Regions from separate parts of the Homo sapiens genome. Here region 2 is linked to region 1. Evidence: promoter capture Hi-C in human tissues and cell types (Jung and others, 2019). All regions are on one chromosome and are shown on one strand. Each heading gives the region's core, a stretch centred on a gene start or on the middle of the fragment in contact. The rest is flanking DNA. Distances are from core to core; before and after follow the strand shown.

Evidence for each region. The method cuts DNA at HindIII sites, captures the fragments that hold promoters and counts their contacts. A contact is called where the count stands out against the background at its distance.
Region 2: a contact is called between a fragment that was not itself captured here and the fragment with the promoter of TVP23B in region 1, in 1 of the 25 tissues and cell types used here (hippocampus).

What each region holds. Positions count from the first base shown.
Region 1 is chr17:18,778,363-18,784,467 of GRCh38, forward strand. TVP23B (trans-golgi network vesicle protein 23 homolog B) reads left to right here and starts at 2,821. Exons shown (of 7, transcript NM_016078.6): 1 at 2,821-2,943. The coding sequence starts at 2,932. FBXW10 (F-box and WD repeat domain containing 10) reads left to right here. Exons shown (of 14, transcript NM_001267585.2): 14 at 113-987. The coding sequence ends at 936. The HindIII fragment of the contact is 28,552 bases long and covers 1-5,608 here.
Region 2 is chr17:18,187,600-18,193,776 of GRCh38, forward strand. The region is part of intron 1 of ALKBH5 (alkB homolog 5, RNA demethylase); the gene reads left to right. Among named protein-coding and RNA genes, the nearest start is that of ALKBH5, 6.9 kb to the left of the region's middle. The HindIII fragment of the contact is 6,402 bases long and covers 607-6,177 here.

The DNA.
Region 1 (6,105 bases), core at 1,571-4,070:
AACAAAGACCTCAATGTGCTTCGAAGTTTGAATGCCCAAGTACTTAATGCATACGTACTTAATATTTTTCATAGAACGCCGATTTTTTAAAATTTTCTTTTTTTTGAAAAAGCAGATGATGTGGAGAAAGCACAAAAACAAGGACAATTGGAAACTCCTGGAAAACTGCCCAGTCACCCAAAGAAAAAGTCTTGGAAAATCCCTATGTCACCTGACCAATTCCTCCTGACTGTTAGCGCCCTGCAGCACGCCCATAATTCCGGGGAATTTGCCTATCCCTGTAGGCCCCAAACAGAAATTACTGATGTCTGGGGACCTTCAATTTCATACCCAAGGAAGGTCTTGAATTTCAAAGGAAAATCAATCCAACGTGCAGTTGATCGGTTGAGATTGAGCAATCCTCCTATAGATGTGAAACGAACCAGTATTCCCCTTGAAATCCAGAAACTGCAGCCCAACTTGAAGATCTCTTTGCACAGTCCTAGAGTCCAGTCCACCATACCCCAGCCCATGATTATCCGCTCCAGGTTCTCTGGCAGCTTAAAGGGTGGAGACCAAGTGACCAGTTCAATTGAAAGGGCTGTGTGCAGTACGGGTCCCCTGACCAGTATGCAGGTCATTAAACCAAACCGCATGCTAGCTCCACAAGTGGGCACAGCCACCCTGTCTCTTAAGAAAGAACGGCCTCGCATCTATACAGCCCTTGATCCTTTTAGAGTGAACACTGAGTTCGTGCTGTTGACCGTGAAGGAGGAGAAGGAGCACCAGGAAGCCAAGATGAAGGAATATCAGGCCAGGGAGTCCACTGGAGTGGTTGATCCAGGAAAAGTCAGCAAAGCTGCATGGATCAGGAAGATCAAAGGCCTGCCTATTGATAATTTCACGAAGCAAGGGAAAACAGCGGCCCCTGAACTTGGACAAAATGTATTTATCTAAACCAGCCTTGGGAAATTACAATGTTTTACAATAAACAGAAAGCCAAGCGGATGTTGCTATTTGGCCTTTTTTTTTTTTTTTTTGACTGTTTCTTCCTGGTAATTAATGTGGGAACTCCCAGTTATCTTCCTCTGAGCCAAATATTTGATATCATCAAAATAAGAAAACAGAAGGAGGTTGGGCGAGATTAGCATCTGTAGTCCCACTGAAAACAATTTAGTGAGCATTAGGAAAGCCCAGTTTCGTTGATGGGGGATGGGGAGATGATCACTGGAAATTAGATACCATTCATCACTACCAATTTAGTGCTATTAGTTCTTCTGGCAAATGAAGTTATGGGATTATATCAGGGTCATGCATTGGTGTTTTCTGGTATTTTTGCACAGAAGCCTGATAAAACCCATTAAGAATTTAAAAGGGGAAGCCCTCAGTGGGGTGGACCTGTTGCATTTGACAACATTGAGCTTTTCCTTCTCAGGGCTAACTCCTAAGGAAGAGAATTAGCATATTTATCCTCTGTACAAAGAGGGCCAGTAACATCAAGTGCATTGAGGTTTCTGCTTAAACCTTTGGACTATGGTGCAGGGACCAGGTAATTTAGAAGAGTGCAGCCCACTACAAGAGCTATGGCCCATTAGAAAGTTCAAGCCTTGACCAGGTGCGGTGGCTCACGCCTGTAGTCCCAGCACTTTGGGAGACTGAGGCGGGTGGCTCACCTGAGATCAGGAGTTTGATACCAGCCTGACCATCGTGGTGAAACCTCGTTTCTACTAAAAATACAAAATTAGCTTTAAAAATTAGCTATTAAAAATTAAAAGACGATAATGAATTCAAACACAATGTCTTAAAAAACCAAAAACTACGAAAAACAACACAAAACTCCACAGCACTGAGTGGACCACTGAAAACCTGCCATGGGCAGGCTGGACGTACAGGCCCCAAATTTGTTAGCTTTTCATCTCCAAGGGCACGAATGCAATTGTGCTGCCGAAATGTCTTGCCTTTAGAAACGCGTGTGTGTGTTTTCCCCCTTTCATTATTAGAATATCAGGTTTTAAATGGCACTGGCAATCAGCCACGTAAAATTTGTGATTTTAATAGAATCCCTTCAATTAAGGACACGTGCAAATACCACTATGCCAACAGCAGTCTGACTCGGCCAGACAGATAGGATATTGTCATCATCACCGCTTCAAAGATGACTTAACGCCCCTTAATTTCACATCCTTTGTTCAGGCAAGATCACAGCATGAGCGGCTGGACTTAAAACTGTAGTAAGTATAACGTCTCCCATTTACTAGATACTTACACTGTAAGGAAACCATTATCACCCCCACTTTACAACTGATGAAAGAAGTACATAAAGGTTGGTGATATGATTGGCAATAGAGTTCCCAGGCGCCTAAGCTCCAGGGCGCAAGGTCTCAACTCCTGGCGTCTAAGTTTATACCTCCCATAATAATACCGTCCATTAGTTACTCTAGAGTCCTCCTGCCTTGTTTTTCTTAACGTTTTACTTCTCTGCAAGAACATATTTTAAAAAGTTGCTTCTACAATTTAAAGTACAAAAGTAATACTGTACAGGAGTAAGTCTTTGTAAAATATTTAAAGAAAATTATATTATACAATAAAACCCCGCCCCCCTGCATTCGGGGCAGCGACACTGGGGGAACGACTTTAGAATTTGCATTGGGTGGACAGCAAATACTTCCGTAAAACAGACCATGAAGCTTTCCACTTAGAGCCCACTGTGGCCCCAATACCTTTCCCTTTCGCTCCTGCTCCAGGCTCCGCCTCCGCCGTGTCCGGGCCGCTCGCCCCGCCCCCGCTCGCCCCGCCCCTGGATTTGCTCCCTCAAAGCGGAAGTGAGGCCGGACTGAGGCTCTTACAGTGGTCCCTGCTGGCCCTTGGTGACGGGTCGCCTCAGTTCCGACCCGGACCCGTACGCTGCTGCGCTGACGTGGCTCCCGGAAGTAGGGCTGGCGTAGGGCCGCCATGTTGCAGCAGGTGAGGGGCTGAGGGCTCGCTGGGAGGGTGGCGGCTCCTGGGACTGGCTCTGCAGGTTCCGTGGGACTGGAGCCCGCGTCCCCCGCGCCCGCTACTCGAACTCGAGGAGGAGCGGGGCGGCCGGGAGTGGAGGGCTGTGGGTAGTTGTCTGAGGAGGGCTGCTGGGGGTTCTGAGGCCGCTGGGGGCGGCGTGACCCGTGCGGCGCAGAGCAAGTACTTCTTGCGGCTGTGGGGACGCCCATTGTTAACCAGCGCGAGTGGGGGTCTCTCTTTCCTCAACCCTTATTGCCGGGGTGGAGTTGAGGAGGAGCGGCCTGCGGGCCTCTTAGCTTCCTGACACCCAGGGGTGCGATGCTATTTTGTAGGAATCGGCGACACCGCCAGAGCCTCGCTTTCAAATTGCTGTTTCCAAACTAATGTTGTTGGTGATTCTCTCCTTTGTGCTCTTAGAGTTAATTGTAGTCCACATGTTGGCAACCAGAGACTCGTAAGATTAATAATATTTTTAGAAAAAACTACTGTTTATGGTCACTTAGATTGTCTTAAGTGTTTTTTTCTTTCGGTTCACACAAAATTTGTTGAGGGATTACTATGACTCAGACACGGTTGTAGGCCCAGGGATAGGGTTGTGACCAGTACAGACAGGTTTCTTGCCCCGTATTTTTGGGTTAGGGAAGTGGGTTCTAGGAGATGGGGGTTGGGTGGGGAGACACGATAAATTGTATAACCAAAGATATTTTCAGATAATTGCAAAGGCAGGGTGATGAAATAACAAGTGTCTGAGGATAGGACAACTAAGATTTATGGTCAGGAAAGACTGCTTATGAGGAGATGCCTTGAGTGGAGAAAATCTAATAATGGTTAAATTCAGCTGTATTACAGGAAAGGTGTCCCGATCCAGACCCGAAAAGAGGGTCCTTGGCCGGGCGTGGTGACTCAGGCCTGTAATCCCAGCACTTTGGGAGGACGAGGTGGGTGGATCATGAGGTCAAGAGATCGAGACCATCCTGGCCAACTTGGTGAAACCCTGTCTCTACTAAAAATACAAAAATTAGTTGGGCGTGATGGTGCACGCCTGTAGTCCCAGCTACTCGGGAGGCTGAGGCAGGAGAATCGCTTGAACTGGGGAGGCTGAGGTTGCAGTGAGCCGCGGGCCACTGCACTCCATCCAGCCTGGCTACAGAGGGAGACTCCGTCTCAAACAAAACAAAAAAAGTCTTGGATCAGGCAAGAAGGAATTCAGGGTGAGTCCACAGTGCAAAGTGAAAGCAAGTTTATTAAGAAAGTAAAGGAGTGGCTACTCCATAGAGCAACCTGGAGGGCTGCTGGTGGCCCATTTTTATGGGTATTTCTTAGTGGTATGGTTAACAAGGGGTGGATTATTCATTCCTCCCCTTTTAGATCATAGAGAGTAACTTCCTGATGTTGCCATGGCATTTGTAAACTGGCATGGCGCTGATGGGAGTCTAGTAGTGAGGACGACCAGTGGTCACTCTCGTGGCCATCTTGGTCTTGGTGGGTTTTGGCTGGCTCCTTTATTGCAACCTGTTTTTTCAGCAAGGTCTTTATGACCTGTATTTTGTGCCGACCTCACATCTCATCCTGTGATTTAGAATGCCCTGTCTGGGAATGCAGCCCAGTAGGTTTCAGCCTCATTTTACCCAGCTCCTATTGAAGATGGAGTTGTTCAGGTTCACATGCTTCTGACATTTGAACCTGCGCCCAGGCCGGATGAGGCTGGAGAAACACAACAATGTTGACTGTTCCCACTATTTATTTATTTATTGATTGATTGATTGATTCATTCATTCATTTATGAGACGGAGTTTCACTCTTGTTGCCCAGGCTGGAGTACAATGGTGTGATCTCGGCTCACTGCAACCTCTGCCTCCCGGCTTCAAGCGATTCTTCTGCCTCACCCTCCAGAGTAGCTGGGATTACAGGCGCCTGCCACCACGCCCGGCTAATTTTTGTATTTTTAGTAGAGATGGGGTTTCACCATATTAACCAGGCTGGTCTTGAGCTCCTGACCTCAGGTGATCCACCCGCCTCAGCCTTCCAAAGTGCTAGGATTACAGGCGTGAGCCGCCAGGCCCGGCCGACGGTTCCCACTTGATAAATTTGTGACGTGAACCTCAGTCGAGCCCTTAGTGCTGCCAGGCGGTCATTCTACATTTCCATAGCCCCTTCACCCTCTCGCCTTAGGCAACTATTAAAACTCAAATCTTCAACGTTTCTTCTCTTATCCTCTCTCAGCTGGTAACGTTGCTTCTTGTTTCACTGAAAATGGAAGCCGTCGGAAGACAATTTTCACACTAGCTGCCTAGTTGCATGTTTACTCAGGGTCTCATATTCTTTTATGATAATTGGACTGTTAGTGCTCCATTCTTAGGTCTTCCTGTCTACTGTGTCCTGGTTTCCATCTCCTCTTGCCTACTGGAAGGCATTGTTCTAGTAATTCTCTTTCTTGTATCATCAGTTTTTTAATCCTTTTAAACGTTTGCTCACATCAACATATAAACGTGCTTTAATTTCTCTTACCTTAAAAAATGAAAACTTGGCCGGGCGCGGTGGCTCACGCCTGTAATCCCAGCACTTTGGGAGGCCGAAGCGGGTGGATCACGAGGTCAGGAGATCGAGACCATCCTGGCTAACACGGTGAAACCCCGTCTGTACTAAAAAACAACAAATTAGCCGGGGGTGGTGGCGGGCACCTGTAGTCCCAGCTACTCGGGAAGCTGAGGCAGGAGAATGGCATAAACCTGGGAGGCGGAGCTTGCAGTGAGCCGAGATCGCGCCACTGCACTCCAGCCTGGGCGACAGAGCCAGACTCCGTCTCAAAACAAACAAACAAACAAACAAAACAAACTTGACACCACATGCTCTTTCACTGGTCACTCCATTCTTTTTCCTTTAAAGACTTGTATCATATATGCTTGTCTTTTAATTCTTCCAGTCTCTCTTGTATTCATTCTAGTCAGTCTCTCTTCCCCTCTCCCAACCATACTGGAACTGCTCTTACTGAGTTCCCTGATGACCTGTTAAAAATACAGTGGTCATGGCTGGGTGCAGGGCTCATGGCTGTAATCCCAGCACTTTGGGAGGCCAGGATGGGTGGATCATGAGGTCAAGAGATGGAGACCATCCTGGCCAACATGGTGA
Region 2 (6,177 bases), core at 2,558-5,057, 590 kb before region 1:
CTGCTCTAGGGTCTGGACCCTTCCACTAATTAAATCTTCTTGCACCTGCATACTTAGCTTACCTTGGTATGCAGGTGGGTGAACACCTGCCTATTAGTAGTGCCCGTCGTCAAATCCTGCATATAAACTGGTAAGAAGTGGTGCTTTCTCTTTTCCTGGTACAGATCCTAGCCCAGAGGTGATGAGCAGTAAAGCTGCAGATTGGAAGGGAGGGGCTGGTGAAAACAGTGGTGCGGTGCAGATGGGGAGGGATTCTAGTAGTAGGCATCTTAGACTTCAGTTGGTGTTGGTGGCAATGGTATCTGTACCCCTCTAAGACCGCATGGCAAGAATACAATTTTATATTTAATAGTGATCAGCATGGATGTTGGTGCGTCACAAACATTGACTCAGCAGTGTCTAAACCTGGGCATTTAGAACAAGGCCTCACAGAATCTTCTGGAAGTGCTTCAAACTCCTTTCCAAACCTAGTCGTCAGTTGTTTTTTGTAACCTTCCCATGTTAGGCCTGGGTGGATCCCCTCTTAAGGCTGTACTTTAGGGAAATATTTTTTATCTTCATATCACTTTATCTGTCATTCATTCTCCTATTCCCTGTTGGCTGCATGGGGCAGATTAAAACAGACTCTGATTGGACTAATTAGAATAATTACTTCAAGGCTAATTGCTTACTTGCTGCTATCTTTAATCACTGCTACGTGGTCTGTGGTGTGGTGGCCACATGCCCAGAGACCCAGGCCTAGGCCAGCCGTCTGGAAATGACTGTATCACCCAGGCACGGGGCATGCACTGGTGAGCTCAGCCTGTGACTCTTCCAGTTAACGGTTGGTATTGGGTGGAGTGGGCACCCCTGTCAGTTCTGGGATAGTCTGATCTTGTTCAGCTGGTTGAAAGCAAAATTTAGCTTTCTGGCTTAAAATAGTTGGGAAAGTAGGGCAGATAGGTCCTGGGCCACATCTCTTGTGTGGACTCTTCTGATTCCACTGGAGGGGGAGGAACCACAGGATGAAGTCAGGGCTGTGCACCGTCAGGAGGAGCTCTGGGCCAGGGGGGTTGGCTGCCCTTGCTGCTGCCAGAGCCTGACAAGGCAGAGGGCAGTAAAAGAAAGGAAGCTAACAGTGAACCATGGTGTTAATCATGAAGCTCAGAGCAAGCAGAGAATAAATAGGCCATAAAAATTTCAGAGCTGGCCAGGCTTAGTGGCTCATGCCTGTAATGCCAGAACTTTGGGTGGCCAAGGTGGACGGATCATGAGGTCAGGAGTTTGAGACCAACCTGGCCAACATGGTAAAACCCCATCTCTACTAAAAATACAAAAACTAGCCGGGCATGGTAGTGTGCACCTCTAATCCCAGCTACTCAGGAGGCTGAGGCAGGAGAATCACTTGAACCCGGGAGGCGGAGGTTGCAATGAGCCGAGATCGAGCCCTTGCGCTCCAGCCTGTGCTGTAGAGTGAGACTCCGTCTCAAAAAAAATAATAAAAAAAAAAATTTCAAGGCCGGGCGCGGTGGCTCACGCCTGTAATCCCAGCACTTTGGGAGGCCGAGGTGGGTGGATCACGAGGTCAGGACATCGAGACCATCCTGGCTAGCATGGTGAAACCCTGTCTCTACTAAAAATACAAAAAACAAAATTAGCTGGGTGTGGTGGCGGGCGCCTGTAGTCCCAGCTACTTGGGATGCTGAGGCGGCAGAATGGCACGAACCCGGGAGGCGGAGCTTGCAGTGAACCGAGATCATGCCACTGAACTCCAGCCTGGCAGCCTGGGCGACAGAGCAAGACTCCGTCTCAAAAAAAAGAAAAAGAAAATTCAGAGCTGGCTGGCCAGTTGGTGGATAGCCTTCACTGATACAGTGCTAGCTCTCTGGGGGATATAGGTTCATCTCTGCAAATCTCTTTCATGGGGCTAGTGGGTGTACGTGTGCCCTTTGGTGAGGCCAGCAAGGCCCCCTGGACAGGCTTGCTACCAGGAAACACAGATGGGCTTTTCTTCCTACCGCCTCCACAACAAAATCCAGAAAGTTTGACAGCAGACTTGGTTGGAGTTACAGCACCACCATTTTAACTCGTTGACTTCGGGGAAATTAAGCTTTTTGAGGCCTCAGTTTTCCTCATCTGCAAAACCAGTCTAATGATGCTATAGAGTTGTTATAGAAAGTTGAATCTTTGTCATCTATTGAATGCTTGAAATTTAGCTAAAAGTGTCTCAGGAGATGGGCTACCTTCTGTGTTTAGTACTGTCTATCTTGGTGTGTACAGAATTGGGACTTGGCAGGTTGACCTTCCCTCTGGATTCAGAAAGCCCCAGGACTTCTTATAAAGTTAGGCCATGGGTCGTCTTGGAGGCTTGGGTCTGGTAAATAATTGAGCCTGAGCTCACAATCCTGCCCCTGGGTCCAGGTGGCTGGTCTGCTGCCCCCAAAAGCCTGACCTTCTTGGTCCTGTGGGTCTGTCAGTAAGGCAGGTAGCCATAGCTGGAGAGAGACAGTCACCAGGCTGGGATCTTGGACAGTCCCTCCATCTCTGGTTCATCCTGGCCTAGGCAGGGCATGGAGTAGATGGAAAATGGTGGCCATCTTGGAAATGTGTCATAACAACTCAGTTTCCAAGACCGTCCCCTAGAGGAGAGATGTACAGTCCTGCATAGTTTCTTTAAAGAATTTTTCAGGGCCAGGTGCGGTGGCTCATGCCTGTAATCCCAGCACTTTGGGAGGCCAGGGCGGGTGGATCACCTGAGGTCAGGAATTCAAGACAAGAATGGCCAAGATGGTGAAAGCCCGTCTCTACTAAAAATACAAAAATTAGCCGGGCGTGGTGGCAGGCACCTGTAATCCCAGCTACTCGGGAGGCTGAGGCAGAGAATTGCTTGAACCCAGGAGCTAGAGGTTGCAGTGAGCCAAGATTGCGCCACTGCATTCCAGCCTAGGCAACAGAGTGGGACTCTGTTTCCGAAAAAAAAAAAAAAAAAAAAAATTTCAGACACCTCATTTAATTTGCACCTAATCTTCTGAGGAGGGGCTTGCTGTGATCTTTGTTTTGCAGAGGCAGAAACAGGTTCTAAGTGGTAGAATAGTTCAGCTCAACACACATTTCATTTAGTGTCCACTGTGCAGGGATGAGTAAGGCCTTTGAAGAGCTTTGTCTTGAAGGGAAGACACAATTTCCACAAGGCCAGATGGAATAGCAAAGAGGCATGAGAGGGTGTGGTTGAGCAATGTAGGGGGAACCCAGCCTGGGCAGTCAGGGAAAGGCCCCCAAAAGAGGAGATAGACATGTCAGCTCCTTCGAGAGTCACTCTGAGGTATAGGACTAGTGGGTGACATTTGCAACATATACTGGTCAGTGCCTCTGGGGCTGGGGCTGGGGGCTCAGCCCAGAGAGGGAGCAGGCAAGCCAGATGGCATAAGGTTATTTCCTCTTCTCCTTTCCCTGTGAAAACAAAAAAGCAGGAGGTCCTGGAACTTTTCATGCCAGCAGTAGGGCTGGACCCAAGGGCATATTAAGTTGCAAGCTGGCCGACTGAGACTTTCAGACAATTTATTTTGTAGCAAGTAGGTTCCTTAATAGTAAATAATACCCTGTGGTCTCTGCTCGACATTTTGTGAGATTGGCCAGGAGAGCTTCCCTTAATCAGGACTTTGAGCTCATGTTGCCAGAGCAGCCGGATATTCTGAGGAAAGGGTCAGTGGGCTGTGTCATAGCTGCTAGGAAGTTCTAGAAGACCAGTACTAATAAGCCTTCCAGGTTGGGTCAGTGCCAAAGTCATTTTTGTGGGCCTGTGCAGCCCTACCTCCATACTAGTTCTTCCAAGGCCTGGGCTCCGTGGCAGGAACCTGACATGGCTTATTGTTTGTTCTAGAGCCCTTTGGGGGATGGGGTCAGGGAGCATGCGGGCAGTCAAGCTTTGACAAACATCTGGATTTGCTCCAGAACTGCATTAAGAAAAGTGGTTCCTTGTTGGAGATGGGAAGTCAGGGCCCTTGGTTATGCATATAGCCAAGTCAAACAGATTGATAACACTTGTCAATGGCAGGGAAGGTTGCCTGTAGCCAGCACTGCAGATTCAGGACTTAGAAACGTGCCTCTGGGGCCGAGCATGGTGGCTCACACTTGTAATCCCAGCACTTTGGGAGGCCGAGGTGGGTGGATCACGTGTGATCAGGAGATCGAGACCAGCCTGGCCAACATGGGGAAACAGTCTTCACTAAACATACAAAAATTAGCCTGTAGTCCCAGTTACTTGGGGGTCTGAGGCAGGAGAATTGCTTGAACCTGGGACGTGGAGGTTACAGTGAGCCAAGATCATGCCACTGCACTCCAGCCTGGGCAACAGAGTGAGACTCTGTCTTTAAAAAAAAAAAAAAGTGCCTTTGAGACCTTTGACAGCTCTTTGGGAAAGTATTGTGTGTCTATATGGGACAGTCTTGCAGTCTAGACCCCCATTCCCCCAGTGTGGAATGATAAAAGCATGGGATGAGAACTAGAGTTCCTAGCTCTGGAAATGGGGCCCAGGCGGCCCCCACTACTGGCAGATCCCTGCAGGGGGAGCCCAGACCATGTCTCTTTGGCAGATGCTGAATCCAGGGCTCTGGCTTGCCCCAGGATAGTCCAGGGCCCTCTGACTTTTGTCAGAGTGCTTAGTAAAGATTGTAGGGTGTCAGGCACCCTGCATTATCTGACTTAATTCTCGCAATACCCCTGCAGGTAGGCCTCTCACCACCCCTTTCCAGGAGTGTCAACCAAGTAGTCATATAATGCTGTTTTTCTGCCTGGAAGGGAGGAGGCCCCGTTTTTAAAATCTTGTAATCTTAAAAACTTTAATCTTGTAATCTTTAAAACTGTCCCCATTTTTAAAATCTTGTAATATTAGTAGCAGCAAAAGAATAGCTAAATTATAAAGCATAACAAAATGAATACCCAAGAACCTACTGTTCTCCTTATTACAGATGAAGAAACTGTACAGGTTTTTAGGTTCAGCATGTGATTTAACAAAGGTCACAAAGCTAGTAGGAGACAAAGCTCACATTTGAACCCAGGTCTCTTCAACTCACTAACTCCTGTGTGGTACTTCTCACTGTGGGCTGATGGGTATTAATAGGTATTATGAGAGAAGGTTCTTTGGTAAGTGCTCAAAGTCAGTGGGTTCTTTTGCTGTAGTAATTCTCATGTGCTTTAAATATATTAATGCTTTTTGAAACTCTAATCAGTATTTTACAAATTGATTTCACTGTAGACATTCGTCCACTGTCTTTTTCTTTTTTTTTTTTTTTTTTTTTTTGAGACGGAGTCTCACTCTGTCACCCAGGCTGGAGTGCAGTGGCACTATCTCGGCTCACGGCAACCTCCACCTCCCAGGTTCAGCGATTCTCCTGCCTCAGCCTCTGCGATAGCTGGAATTACAGGCACCTGCCATCATGCCTGGCTTATTTTTGTATTTTTGTAGAGACGGGGTTTCACCATGTCGGCCAGACTGGTTACGAACTCCTAACCTCAGGCAACATGCCCACCTTGGCCTCCCAAAGTGCTGGGTGGGATTACAGGCGTGAGCCACCGTGCCTAGCCTGTCTACTGTCTCTTATGGGACTGGTGTTCATGGAGAAAATTTTGAAAAATTCTTGTCTAGGAGCAGCTTGAGGGAGAAGGTGGATCTATAAAATAAAGGTTTGGGCCGGGCGCGGTGGCTCACACCTGTAATCCCAGCACTTTGGGAGGCCGAGGCTGGCGGATCACGAGGTCAGGAGTTCAAGACCATCCTGACCAACATAGTGAAACCCCATCTCTACTGAAAATAACAAAAATTAGACAGGCGTGGTGGGGTGCGCCTGTAGTCCCAGCTACTTGGGAGGCTGAGGCAGGAGAATCGCTTGAACCCGGTAGGCAGAGGTTGCAGTGAGCCGAGATTGTGCCACTGCACTCCAACCTGGGTGACAGAGTGAGACTGTCTCAAAAAAAAAAAAAATTAAATAAAATAAAGGTTTGTTCTATCCCCAGCATGAGCTCAAATCAGATTTCCAAATCAGAGGTGCTTCCTTAAGGCTGAGCCTGAAGCAGTCTGGCTTTTTATCTCTTGTTGGCTCTTGCATCCAGTTATTAGAGCTGAGGTTTGGCCAGCCTGGCCATCTTGAGGGGTCCTTCCCAGGCCTGCAGTGTTTTTAATAGTTAAGTTTGTGTCTGTAC